Linked DNA regions of Homo sapiens: regions 1, 3, 4 and 5 are each linked to region 2. The links are contacts of gene promoters, found by promoter capture Hi-C in blood cells and fetal thymus (Javierre and others, 2016). All regions are on one chromosome and are shown on one strand. The core of a region is centred on a gene start or on the middle of the fragment in contact, and the rest is flanking DNA. Distances in the headings are between cores, read along the strand shown.

The links. Contacts are between HindIII fragments. The CHiCAGO score rates a contact against its expected background, and 5 or more counts as called.
Region 1: a contact is called between a fragment that was not itself captured here and the fragment with the promoter of NUAK2 in region 2, in 2 of 17 cell types (naive B cells and total B cells). The highest score is 7.6, in naive B cells.
Region 3: a fragment that was not itself captured here is called in contact with the fragment with the promoter of NUAK2 in region 2 in 2 of 17 cell types (naive B cells and total B cells); the score reaches 7.8 in naive B cells.
Region 4: a contact is called between a fragment that was not itself captured here and the fragment with the promoter of NUAK2 in region 2, in 1 of 17 cell types (neutrophils). The highest score is 5.1, in neutrophils.
Region 5: a fragment that was not itself captured here is called in contact with the fragment with the promoter of NUAK2 in region 2 in 1 of 17 cell types (neutrophils); the score reaches 5.6 in neutrophils.

What each region holds. Positions count from the first base shown.
Region 1 is chr1:205,482,310-205,485,009 of GRCh38, forward strand. No RefSeq gene overlaps it. Among named protein-coding and RNA genes, the nearest start is that of TRK-TTT8-1, 9.5 kb to the left of the region's middle. The HindIII fragment of the contact is 5,521 bases long and covers 1-2,700 here.
Region 2 is chr1:205,320,302-205,323,001 of GRCh38, forward strand. It overlaps NUAK2 (NUAK family kinase 2), which reads right to left and starts at 1,444. Exons shown (of 7, transcript NM_030952.3): 1 at 1,097-1,444. The coding sequence starts at 1,327. RefSeq lists a silencer at 951-1,130. The HindIII fragment of the contact is 5,000 bases long and covers 1-1,681 here.
Region 3 is chr1:205,520,873-205,523,572 of GRCh38, forward strand. CDK18 (cyclin dependent kinase 18) reads left to right here. Exons shown (of 16, transcript NM_212502.3): 2 at 2,275-2,425; 3 at 2,611-2,700. The coding sequence starts at 2,296. Among named protein-coding and RNA genes, the nearest start is that of CDK18, 18 kb to the left of the region's middle. RefSeq lists an enhancer at 554-1,379. The HindIII fragment of the contact is 168 bases long and covers 1,367-1,534 here.
Region 4 is chr1:205,109,754-205,112,453 of GRCh38, forward strand. The region is part of intron 3 of RBBP5 (RB binding protein 5, histone lysine methyltransferase complex subunit); the gene reads right to left. Among named protein-coding and RNA genes, the nearest start is that of RBBP5, 11 kb to the right of the region's middle. The HindIII fragment of the contact is 2,830 bases long and covers 1-2,700 here.
Region 5 is chr1:205,128,063-205,130,762 of GRCh38, forward strand. No RefSeq gene overlaps it. Among named protein-coding and RNA genes, the nearest start is that of RBBP5, 7.4 kb to the left of the region's middle. The HindIII fragment of the contact is 2,530 bases long and covers 134-2,663 here.

The sequences.
Region 1 (2,700 bases), core at 32-2,531, 160 kb after region 2:
ATTAGCTATTCTTCTATCTGAGGTACAGTCAGGTGAGTTTGGCCTGGGGGCAGGGAGATGGCCACTGAGCCCCTGGAAAGGAGTTGAGTGGGGCTGGGCTTGGGGGAGGGAGGGCTACAGCAAAGACATGGGTGAGGAGGAGCTCTGGAAATAGCTCCCCCAAGGGGAAACATCTCCCTTTCCTCCTTGAGGTAACTGATCAGACTGGGAGTTCTGAGTCCTGGCTGTAGGGGCTGCCAGATTCTAGAAGCCTCTCTGACCCCCAGGTTCCTTTTCTGTCACACAGTTTTTGAGTAACTATAAAACATCTCTGGGCTGGGTGCGGTGGCTCACGCTTGTAATCCTAGCACTTTGGGAGGCTAAGGCAGGAGGATCGCTTGAACCCAGGAGTTTGAGACCAGCCTGGGCAATATAGCAAGACCCCATCTCTACAAAAATTAAAAAAAATTAGTCAGGCATGGTGGTACATGTCTGTAGTCCCAGCTATTTGGGAGGCTGAGGTGGGAGGATCGCTTGAGCCCGGGACGTCGAGGCTACAGTGAGCCGCGATCAAACCACTACACTCCAGCCTGGGCAACAGAGCAAGACCCTGTTCTCCCTCACCGCTCCCCCTCAGAACCGCTCCCCCTCAGAAAAGTCTCTGATCTGACACTCTCAGCATTTGATACTATTCACCCCTTCTTCCATTTTGAAATGTTCTTCCTTAATTATTGAAAGCAATATTCTTCAGGCTCTCTTGCATCTTCCATAGGAATTAGGAATCTTCTATTTGCAGGAAACAGAAAAGCTCTCTACCTAACAGGCTAAAAAATACAGGACATCTATTCATTCACAAATGGTTCCAGCAAGGACTGATGGAGCAACGCAGGGATGTCACATAGGGCTAGTTCTTTCTTTCTGCCCCTCTGTCTTCCTCAGCCTCATGCTCCCTCCCAGGCTGCTGCTCTTGGTGCCACCTGCCTCTTCCTTCACACAGTGATAGAAAGAGCTTCTTGTCCCAGGGTGTCATTCAAAAGCCCTGTAAGTCTCTGGTTGGCAAGACTTAGGAGACATGTCCCCCTCGAATCAATCATGATACCATGTGCTCCACTCCACAGCCAGAGATCCCTTCTGTCCCCAGAGTTGCCAGGATCTTCCAAATGAAAATAGGAGCTGCTGAGGTGGAGAAGGGGACTGGCCACTGGGGAGACCTCAACACATACCCTTGCCCTGACCCCTCCCACCTCTAGTTCTCTTCCTGCTGGCCTCAGCCTCCCTCTCCACACTGGCTCCCCCTGCATCCAGAGTCCCTCCCCGGCTGCAAGACCATGCCCCTGTGGCTGATTCCCTCCTTATCCACACTGAAGCCCTGACTGTCTTCCAACATCCTGTCCTGTATCTTGATCTGTTCACGAAGCATTTCTACTTGATGTCCTCAAATTAACCCTCATATAAAAAGAACTAATGATCCTTTCCCTGACATCACACGCCCGTCCCCCGACACACACACACACACACACACACACACACACACACACACACACACATTGCTTGACTCTCCAGTTATTCCCATGTTGGGCTGGTCCTTCTCCTTTACCCCCAACATCACATCCTGCAGGACATCCTGGCAGTTCTCCGTTGCGTCTACAGTTAGTTACCTTAAGCCTGGGCCACAGAAACATACTCCCCTAGTCTACAAAAATTAAAAGAAAAATTAGTCTACTCTTCAGTCCCAGACATGCTCCCAGTCTCCTCCTCACTTGGATGTCAGCCTTCCTGAAATGCCACTGCTTCCTGTCCCCCCTCCCTCAAACACCTTCAATGACTCCCCGTCTCTCACATGACCAAATTGACCTCCCTTCGCCTGGCATTTGAAGCTCTCTGAGAACCAGCCTGCTCTAACTTGATGGGCTTCGCTCTGCCGTCTGGTACAGATGTCTGTCTGGTTCACCATATACCTAGAAAGACCCTGAGCGTTCCTGCCTCTTCACTCCCCTGTAGCTTCCCAAAGGTCCCCATGCTCCTGGCAGCCTTCCCTGACCACCACAGCCCCACAATCTCTCTGTCACTGTCTGGGTCAGTTGCCTGGCCCTCAGAGTCACTGCCCAGCCTCCCATTTTTGTGTGTGTAGAACTGTCTGCCTTTGTATTCCCAACTGCATCCAAAGCCCCTTGAGATAAGAGTCGCTGTCCTCAAATGCCCTGGGGGAGCCTGTTCTTGGTAGAAATGAGCTCCTGTGCATGGAAGCACCTTGCACCATTCTGAGTTCTGAGAGGGCAGAAAGGGTGGTTTGGTGTTTTACCAGGGAGGAGGTCAGGAGCAGGACCATTGAAAGAAACTGCAGACATTAGAGCCTCCTCAGGGAGGGTGCGGTTGTTAAGGGCAGCCTGCTTACAGGAGAGAGCCACAACCTGGCATCAGAAGACACCAGCTATGACCAGGCATGGTGGCTCACGCCTGTAACCCCACCACTTTGGGAGGCTGAGGCGGGCGGATCACCTGAGGTCCGGAGTTCCAGACCAACCTGACCAACATGGAGGAACCCAATTGCTACTAAAAATATAAAATTAGCCGTGTGTGGTGGCGCATGCCTGTAATCCCAGCTACTCGGGAGGCTGAGGCAGGAGAATCACTTGAACCCGGGAGGCGGAGGTTGCAGTGAGCCGAGATCAGGCCATTGCACTCCAGCCTGGGCAACAAAAGTGAAACTATGTCTCAAAA
Region 2 (2,700 bases), core at 194-2,693:
TTGCCCAGGCTGGAGTGCAGTGGCACGATCTCGGCTCACTGCAAGCTCCGCCTCCTGGGTTCAGGCCATTCTCCTGCCTCAGCCTCCCGAGTAGCTGGGACTACAGGCGTCCGCCACCACGCCCGGCTAATTTTTTGTATTTTTAGTAGAGACGGGGTTTCACTGTGTTAGCCAGGATGGTCTCGATCTCCTGACCTCACGATCCGCCCGCCTCGGCCTCCCACAGTGCTGGGATTACAGGCGTGAGCCACCGCGCCCGGCTATCTCACCGCAAGTTCTATGTGTTAGGAGCAATATAAGTTCATATTTCGATCTTATTCAATCCTCACAGCAGCTTGTGAGGCAGGCTGTGTTTTCTACAGTTCTGCAAAAGGGGAAACAAAGTACAGAGATGAAGGAAATTGCCCAAGGTCACACAGACTGCTAGACTCCTACGCTCGCACCAAAGTAACAGGGCATGTTCTTGAAAAGGCCCCCAAACCGAAAGGTGTCTCTGGTACAGTGGACCTGGTTTCACATTTTCCAGAATCAAAAACTCATCATAATGAAATTTCAACTAAATTTTAGAGCTGGAAAGGACCTAAATGTCAAAACCCACCCCGTGCCAGAGCTCCAGTGTGCTGGGTTGCCAGATTCTTGGAGTTGGGGAAATCCACACCTCATCCATTCATTCAACCACACACATATTTACCAAATACCTATTAAGATGGGGTGCCTTCTACTTCCTCTTTCCATTGCACTCTATTGAACAGTCTTTTCCCAGCAAAACTCAACTTAAGTCCCATCCATCTTATCCCAGGACACGACACGATTCGTTTTTCCGCGCCAACTATCCATAGCCTCCCTTTTATTTGGCAATCATCACAGCAGTACGGTGTTGCTGGCTGGGGTTCGCAAGTTTGCGACCACTGTCCCTGCAATCACGGACTGACACATCTGCCAGGGACACCCCGCAGTAGCCCCGCAAGCTCAGCGCGGTAAAGACCACGCTGGCCTCTCCGCCGAGCAACGAGCGAGCCGCCGCCCGCCCTCCTCCGCTCCCTGCCGGCGGCCAAGCCGGAGCCCGCCCCGCGCCGCGAGAGGGAGCCGCACTCACCAGGCGCCCCGAGCTCTCCCGCGCCTTCTTCACCTTCCCGTAGGTGCCTTTGCCCAGGGTCTCCAGGAACTCGTAGCGGTGCCGCAGGTTGTGCTTGTGGTGGTGCCGCTTCACCGCCTGCTTCTTCATTAGGGGCTTGGGCGACTTGATCAGCCCTTCCGCCAGCGGCCGGGCTAGCTCTGCGGCCGAGGGAGTGGGGCCGGAGCGCCGCGCGAAAACCAGCGACTCCATGGCGAGCAGGAGGTGAGCAAGGGCGGCAGGGGAATCAGTAGGCTGTGCGGGGAGGGCTGAAGCGCGGGGCACAGGTCCCGCACCAGGACGGGGAGCCACAGCAGTACCAGAGCGCGCAGTAAAGCACAGCATTCCAAGTTGTTATAAACGCCCTGAGCCCGAGGCCCTGGACACGCCCCCCGGCGCCCATTGGCCTGCTCGACGGCGGCGCGTGACCACGGCCGTCCACATTGGCTCTCCGGGGCTCCAGGCCCCGCCTCCTCCCCCTCGGCGTGGCCGGGAAAGGTGTCAATGGAACCCGCCCACCAGGAATGGGGACTAGGGGATTCCAGCGAAGGCCGCCTGAGGCCCAGAAGCTTACTCTGAGGGCCCTTGGAGCTGCACTTGCCTCTGAGTGGCGCTTGGTCCTGCTTAATGCCCTGTTGTTTTATTGTACTCTGTTCTCAGTTGGCAAGGGGCGATCTGAGGGCACTAAAGGTCACCAAAGTATTTCTTCATCCTGAGTAATTTGCTTGTCCCAAGCCAAAATCTATAATTGCTTGACCACTTCATTGAGTCCATAAAGGAGAAAGGGAGCTGGGATGGAACAGAGGCAGAATCCAGCCTAGTGGGAGGGTTAGTGCAGAGCTGTCCTATGGTTCGAGTTCACTTGTCTTCAGTTAGATCAACCTTACTTGGATATTGGAATCCAATGGCCCTGGAAACTTCTTCCTTCTTCCTCAAAGAGGGCTTCTTAGGCGAATCGCTTGAGGTCCAGGAGTTCAAGACCAACCTAGCCAACATGACGAAATCCCATCTCCACTAAAGATACAAAATTAGCCGGGCGTGGTGGTGCGCGCTTGTAATCCCAGCTACTCTGGAGGCTGAGGCAGAAGAATCGCTTGAACCCAGGAGGCAGAGGTTTCAGTGAATCAAGATGGCGCCACTGCACTCCAGCCTGGGCAACAAAGTGAGGCTCCGTTTCAAAAAAAAAGAGGGCTTCTAAGGTTTAGTAGATTCCCTCAACCACTTAGTGGAATTTATTTAGGATGTGTCGGCTGGAGGTGGAGAGAACCCGAAGGGATACATATTTATTTAACATTTTTACATGCCGACTATCTAACCTGTGTCCCTAAGTCTGAAAATGGTTGCTCCACCCAAGGTTTTCTTGTGATTTTGGTGCCAGGAGCACTGGTGGTAGGTTATGAGGTTTGACTTGAGACGGAGTCTCCCTCTGTCGCCCAGGCTGGAGTGCAGTGGTGCGATCTCTGCTCACTGCAAGCTCCGCCTCCCGGGTTCACGCCATTCTCCTGCCTCAGCCTCTCCGAGTAGCTGGGACTACAGGCGCCCGCCACCACGCCCGGCTAATTTTTTGTATTTTTAGTAGAGACAGG
Region 3 (2,700 bases), core at 201-2,700, 200 kb after region 2:
TGTGGCCTGAATGCTATACACAAGTGTGAGGCATGGTGGCTGCCCTCTGGAAGCTTCCTGTCTGCAAGAGTCCTGCAGACAGCAGGCCTGAGACATTGCACAGAGCCACGGAGGAGCGGCTGAAGATGACTGACAGGAAGGAGTTTAGGGATGGGGAGTCAGGAAAGTCCAAGGCTGGTGGGCTCTGCCAAGGAAGCCAGAGGAAGCGCTTTCAGCTACCTTCTCATCAAAGGAGGCATCACCAGCCCCTGAGTTTCTTGAGAATGGGGACCACCCTTTACTTGCCTCTGAAACCCTCATGCCTGGCACAATGCTGGCGCATAGTAGGTGCTCAGTTTTTTGGTTTGTTTGTTTTTTAAGACAGAGTCTTGCTCTGTCGCCCAGGCAGGAGTGCAATGGCGCAATCTCCACTCACTGCAACCTCCGCCTCCAGGGTTCAAGCAATCCTCCTGCTTCAGCCTCCCAAGTAACTGGGATCACAGGTGCACACCACCATGCCCAGCTAATTTTTTTGTATTTTTAGTAGAGACAGGGTTTCGCCATGTTGGCCAGGCTGGTCTCAAACTCCTGACCTCAAGTAATGCACCTGCCTCAGCCTCCCAAAGTGCTGGGATTACAGGCATGAGCCACCATGCCCGGCCAGTTCATTTGTTCAGTGGAACTGAGTGAGACTTCAGGGCCCACTGACAGAGATGGGCCTGCCTAGCACTGCAGACCCGAGGCCTCCACTCTGAAAGGTGCCAGCCCGCTAAAGGAATGAAGGAGAGCTTGTTCATACCCAGCCATGAGGATCAGGGCAGCTGGAGGGCCACCACTGAGCTGTGTTTGGGGGCAGCCAGGAGCATGCGCTGCCAGACAGAGGACCCTTTCCAGGCTGGCTGAGGACAGAAGGATGTGATCATTAAGCAAAGCCAACATGTTACTGACCCATAATCCCTTAAACCAGGAGGATTCGGGAAGGGCCTGGTCGCCTTGGCAACTAGGTGCTGGCCAGTCGCAGGGCTGAGAGCATCCTCCAGGAGTGGGCTGTGCCTGGTGCTGGTGCATGGGTAACAGCTGGGAGCGGGTGCAGGGCGGCCCATCATAGGGCTCACCCCCTGGTGCCTTCTTGCCAGCATGGGTGGAAGCCCTTGTGAGGCCTCAAGGGCAGTGTGTGCAGAGCAGGATGAGAGGGGGGCTGCACTGAGCGTGTAGGAAACCATGAAGGGAAGTGGAGGGGAGGTGAGACAGCGCTGCTCTGGGTTTTCAGGGCAGGAGGGAGAAGGGAGGGTCTGCAGGAAGAAGCAGTTGCATGGGTCTCATTGGGTGGCCAGCAGGGCATCCTCTAATTCAGAGGGCACGAGGAGCTGGGTAGCCTGAAGAAGAAAGCTTTCATGGTTGGGGACAGGACCGTGGGGGTGGGCAGAGCAGCTTACCCCGCTCCTCCATGGTGTTCTCGGTAGGGGATACCTGCCTGCTTGGAGGGCTCTGGCATGGGAAGAGGCCTGCAGGGATCAAGCCTCATCTTCCCTAGGGCTCGACTCTATTAATGGCAAGCTTCCGTGTTTCCCCTGAGACCTTCCACTGCTCCTGACCTCCTGTATTTCAGCTGGAGAGAAGGTGCAGCTGGCCAGCTCTGATGCACTCTTCCCTTCCTCCTCTTTTTCCCCTCTTGCCTCCTGGGGCATGCCAGAGCAGAGACCTTCAGGTGTCAGTATCAGAGGTGAAATGAGGTTTGGACCCAATCATGTCCCAAGGGTGTTGGCCAAGCTGACATTCAGTTTACGGGCCTTGGTCAGTAAGATTTATTGGCTGTTGACACATTCAGGCCCTTGGACACAAGTTGGTAAATTTCTGCTGGTCCAAGGACTGCCTGGTTCTGGCACCCTCCCTGCCACCCCAGCCCTTCCCCCAGAACTCTCTAGACCTCCAGCAGCTAAAGGGCTTAGGTCTGGGGGGCCTTCAGGATCCTCTTTGCACATCATGCCTGCTATTATGACCAATACTTTGCTGGACTAGGTGGTCCATAGAGAACTGCACAGGGCGTGGCGGGGCGGGCGGTGGGCAGTGGAGGCAGTGCTGAGGGTCACTGGGAGGAAGAAGGTGACTGGGAAGAAGAGGGTGAACACCCACCCTCAGAGGGGTCAAACTTTGCAGAAGACACAACCCTGGCTCCCAGTGATGGTGGCATACAGGGCGACAGAGCTTGATGAGAGAGCTGAATTCCCAGTGGGTGGAGACCTGGACTGGTTGCCTTGTTCTTTTCAACTGCTCTTCTCACACTTCCCATCTCAGGACCCGGCTGCCCAGTCCCTCATGATCATGAACAAGATGAAGAACTTTAAGCGCCGTTTCTCCCTGTCAGTGCCCCGCACTGAGACCATTGAAGAATCCTTGGCTGAATTCACGGAGCAATTCAACCAGCTCCACAACCGGCGGAATGAGAGTGAGGGGTCTGGGCCCACCCAGCACCTCTCCCACCTACCAGACACTCCCCAGTCACCTTCCCCTCCCCGCCCACCCCCTCCCCACTGGCCTTAGGGGAGGAGCACAGCGCTGGGGGAGGGGGGCTACCCTTCTCTCCCTCAGGACAGAGAGGCAGGGAGGGGAGCTGACGCCTGTCCCTCTTAGACTTGCAGCTCGGTCCTCTTGGCAGAGACCCCCCGCAGGAGTGCAGCACCTTCTCCCCAACAGACAGCGGGGAGGAGCCGGGGCAGCTCT
Region 4 (2,700 bases), core at 49-2,548, 210 kb before region 2:
GAATTATACTTTTTCACAGCTTCTTTCCCAAAAACAGATGGGTCTTTACTGATTCCAATGTGCTAAAGTCTACCTATGGCCCCCATCCAGTGCTTGAATTTCTTCTGCAGCATCCTAACAAGGGGGGTGGCAAGCTCAGGCAGGAACAGCTCTCAGATAGCTCTCTCCTGGGCAGTCAATCCCACCCACAGCACCTCTGCTTGGGAGCTCCTCTCTACTTGGAGTTAACTTTGTTTCCCTATAGCTAACTTCTGTTCACTACCTACTAGTTCTGTTTTGTTTTTTGGGTTTTTTTTTTCCGAGACAGGGTCTCGCTCTGTCGCCCAGGCAGATCCCGGCTCACCGCAACCTCCATATGCCGGTTCAAGCGATTCTCCTGCCTCAGCCTCCCGAGTAGCTGGGATTACAGGCGCATGTCACCGCACCCAGCTAATTTTTGTATTTTTAGTAGAGACGGAGTTTCACCATGTTGTCCAGGCTGGTCTCGAACTCCTGACCTCAAGTGATTGGTGAGCCTCGGCCTCTGAAAGTGCTGGGATTACAGGCATGAGCCACCGTGCCCAGCCAGTACCTACCAGTTCTGCTTCTACATCCTGGGCCATTTTTTCTCTCTTTCATACATCAACTTTACTAATAGTTGAAGTCAGCTATCATGCCTACCTAAAACTTCCCTTGGTAAAATTTGTTCCCTAATATGCTCAAATAAGGAACAGTTAAATCTATGATGCATGTATACTGTGCAATACTCTATAGACACAACTATATAAAATAAGGAGACACAGAGAAATATCCACTATATGCTAAGTGGAAAAGCAAGCTACAGAACAAAATATATTTATTTTTGTTTAAAAACATATTATGTGGATATATGTATTAATTATTTCCCACATAAAAAGATATAGATATCTTATAGATAGAATATATTCCACACTCTTTAACAGTGGTTACCCTAAGAAGTAGACAAAGGGCTTTCATTTTTTACTTTGCATATTTATATATTCTTTTAATTTTTAAAAATATTTTTAAATGGCCAAGCACGGTGGCTCACTACTGTAATCTTGGCACTTTGGGAGGCCAAGGCAGGCAGATCACCTGAGGTCGGGAGGTCAAGACTGGCCTGGCCAACATGGTGAAACCCCACCTCTACTAAAAATACAAAACTTAGCCGGGCGTGGTGGCCTGCTTCTGTAATCCCAGCTACTCAGGAGGCTGAGGCAGGAGAATCACTTGAATCTGGGAGGCGGAGGTTGCAGTGAGCCGAGATCGTGCCACTGCACTCCAGCCTGGGTGACAGAGCAAGACTCTGTCTCGAAAAAATTTAAAAAAAACAAAAAACTTTTAAATAATCAAGTATAGGTTTTGTGATTTTAAAATATTAAAAATGTTGGAGGGAGGGGTTGAAAAATCTCTTACTTTATATCCTTTGACTGACTAATAACACTTCTGGAAGTCTACTGTAATGAGAACTCATAGACCAAATGCCCTTTGGGCATCTCAGATGCTTATTGGGACATTTCCCATTCATCCGACAAGTATCTGAATGGCTACTGTATATCAGGTACAACGCTAGAAGCTGAGAACATAGCAGTGAAATGGCACACAAGGTTTGTACTCAAACAGCACTTAAGATCTTACAGGGAAGATACTCTAACACAAATATTTGCAATAAACTAACATGAAAATAATAGGAGACATGCAACCATAATCTCAAACTCACCACTTCCCCCTCAAATCTTCCATTAATGAGTATCTTCAACCAAGCCAGAAACCTAAGAATTATCTTAACTTCTCCATTTCACTCACACCCCAATCAAATTAATGACTAAGTCCTCTTATTTCTACCATTTCTCACATCTGTCTAACTTGGCTCCTTTCTTACTGCAACACTCATTATCTCCAGCCTAGACCACAGCAGTTCTCCTATGTTCACTTACTGTTGCCCCTTCAATCTCTTTTCTACTTGTTGCTTTGAAGATCTTTCTAAAATAAAAGCTCATCATGTGACTTTCCTGCCAAAATCTTTTAATGACTTCAGAGTACATATGAGCTAGGAATCAAATTCCTGAGTATGGCAGACGAGGTTCTCCATGAGGACCTTGGTTTACCTTGGCTCTTGTCATATCGTATGTCCCATACCACAATCCAGCTATCCTGATACCTGTAGTTCCCCATTGTACCATACTTGTTTCAAGCTGATATGCCTTGGCCTGTGCAGTGCCCTCTGCTTGGAATATATCTGGCAACATCTACTTATCTTACAAATTTAAAGTTATAAATTATCTGGCTGGGCATGGAGGCTCACACCTGCAATCCTAACAGTTTGGGAGGCCAAGGCAAGCAGATTACCTGAGGTCAGTAGTTCAAGACCAGCCTGGCCAACATGGCAAAACACTGTCTCTACTAAAAATACAAAAATCAGCCGGTCATGGTGGTGTGCACCTGTAATTCCAGCTACTCAGGAGGTTGAGGCAGGAGAATTGCCTGAACCCGGGAGGTGGAGGTTGCAGTGAGCCGAGATCGCACCACTGCATTCCAGCCTGGGCAACAGAGCAAGACTCTGTCTCAAAAAAATTAAAATAAAATACAGTTATAAATTATCTCATCTATGACGGCTTTTCTGACCGTTATTCCCCTTCACTACAATTGATAACTTCCTTCTTTGTGCTTTCATCTCCACTAAATCTTAAATATAGTTCTTGT
Region 5 (2,700 bases), core at 149-2,648, 190 kb before region 2:
ATAAACAGTGCTATGCACCTAAATTGGGGAAACACAGTTGGTATTAAAATATAAGTCCAATATTAGGCGCAGACTCATGGAGAACCCTGATGGCTGCCTGGCCCTTCCTGAGTCCTTAAAGCCTCCATTATTAAGCTTTCCATGATTCATCATGAAGAGATAAAATGTTCCAAATTAAATGTGTGTGTATGTGTGTGCGTGAGTGGGTGTGTATGATGACTGTTCTAAATTGCTAAAATAGTTTATGATCAATGTTTTGTTTGTTAAACCCATAATCCTGGGAAGATGAACACAACTTCAAGTACATTTCTGCTACCTGATGGGTCACTTAAACCTTTATAGAAGAATTTTATTCAATTGTCATTTTCAGTGCATGTTTTCTGGTTGTAGTGATAGAAGTACTAATACTTATTTCACTGGACAAGTTGTAAAAACAGTTTTATTTATTTATTTTGTTTTTTTTTAATTTTTTAATTTTTATTTTTTTGAGACGGAGTTTCACTCTGGTTGCCCAGGCTGGAGTGCAATGGCGCGATCTCGGCTCACTGCAACCTCCGCCTCCCACCTCCTGGGTTCAAGCAATTCTCCTGCCTCAGCCTCCCTAGTAGCTGGGATTACAGGCGCCTGCCACCACACCCGGCTAATTTTTTCTATTTTTAGTAGAGACGGGGTTTCACCATGTTGGCCAGGCTGGTCTTGAACTCCTGACCTCAGGTGATCTGCCCACCTCAGCTTCCCAAAGTGCTGGGATTACAGGCATGACCCACCGCGCCTGGCCTATTTATTTATTTATTTATTTTTCAGACAGAGTTTCACTCTTGTTGCCCAGGCTGGAGTGCAATGGTATAATCTCGACTCACTGCAACCTCTGCCTCCCAGATTCAAGTGATTCTTCTGCCTCAGCCTCTCAAGTAGCTGGGATTACAGGCATGTGCCACCACACCCAGCTAATTTTGTATTTTTAGTAAAGGTGGTGTTTCATTATGTTGGCCAAGCTGGTCTTGAACTCCAGACCTCAGGTGATCCACCCTCCTCGACCTCCCAAAGTGTTGGGATTACAGGCATGAGCCACGGCGTCTGGCCATAAAACAGTTTTTTGTTTTTTTTTGGTTTTTTTGAGATAGAATGTCCCTCTGTTGTCCAGGCTGGAGTGCAATGGCATGATCTCAGCTCACTGCAACGTGTGCCTCCCGGATTCAAGTGATTCTTCTGCCTCAGCTTCCCAAGTTGCTGGGATTACAGGCAACTGCCACCATGCCTGGCTAATATTTATATTTTTAGTAGAGATGGGGTTTCACCATGTTGGCCAGGCTGGTCTCAAACTCCTGACCTCAGGCGATCCTCCTGCCTTGGCCTCCCAAAGTGTTGGGATTACAGGCATGAGCCACCGCGGCTGGCCAGTTTTTAAAAAAGGATTGCAGATACAATAACATTAGGCAAAGCTAACTGAATTGACTAGATTGCCTTGGTCAAAGGTGTACCAGATTGATGACAATCAGATCCACTTCCAGTAGAAGATGGAAGTTGACCCCTTATGAAATAAATAGTCACTGGAAAGGCCTATGCACCTAATAATAGAACGTCTTGTATCTTCTGCTACTAAATACTGATATGACTAAATGCTACAAGGTTTTAATGCATTATGCCAAAGTGTATTTTCACCAGGTTAAAAAAAACTTTCATAGTCCACTGACTGAGGACAATCAAACCTTTCACAATCTAGAACCTGGAGATCGATTGGGTCTTCTGAGGGCAACATCACAGAAAAACTGCCCTTGGCATCCACAATGCAGCAAAACTTTGAGATCCTGAACCTTGGTCTCATAATCTCACAACTCAGAAGGGCCTCCTCCAGACTCTTGGAACTGTATACTGATTGGAAACCTTAAGGTAAAGCTAACCAGGGAAGATTCTCTCCAGAAGCAGATGGCATCCCAGATGTAGACAGCTTTTTCTCAAGATCATGGATCAAGATTGTACTATCATGATACTCTTCTCTCTCAAATTTTTTCTTGCTTGTGCCTGTATGAACAATAGAACTGAAAAAGTGATCTCATGTGTGTACTCATGGGGTATACTTTTATTTGTAGAGGATTTTGCAGCCACATGGACAGTCTTACACTTTGATAGATAGAAGATAAAAGGCCAGTGTCAGGGGAAAAAGAAAGAAAATTCTTAGAAGCACTTTATTAAGCACTTAATTTATCCCTTTTTTTTTTTTTTTTTTCTGAGACAGTGTCTTACTCTGTCACCCAGGCTGGAGTGCAGTGGTGCAATCACGGCTCACTACAGCCTCTACCTCCTGGGCTCTGGTGATCCTCCCACCTCAGCCTCCCAAGTAGCTGAGACTACAGGCATGTGCCACCATGCCTGGCTAATTTTTGTATCTTTTGTAGAGACAGGGTTTCACCATGCTGCCTAGGCTAGTCTCAAACTCCTGGACTCAAGCAATCTGCCCACCTCAGCCTTCCAGAGTGCTAGGATTACAGGCATGAGCCACTGTGCCTGACCTTAATTTATCTTTAGCACCAGGATACACTAAACTTTCTGGAGCTAGGAAACAAAAGACTATTAGCTAGAAGGAAAGGAAAATTGGAATATAGTGAGTTTCTCTCCAGTTCATTAATATCTTAAGGGAATGCCTAATCAATTCTTTGAACATAAGCTTCTTGAAGGCAAGCAGCCTACTCTGTTTTGTTT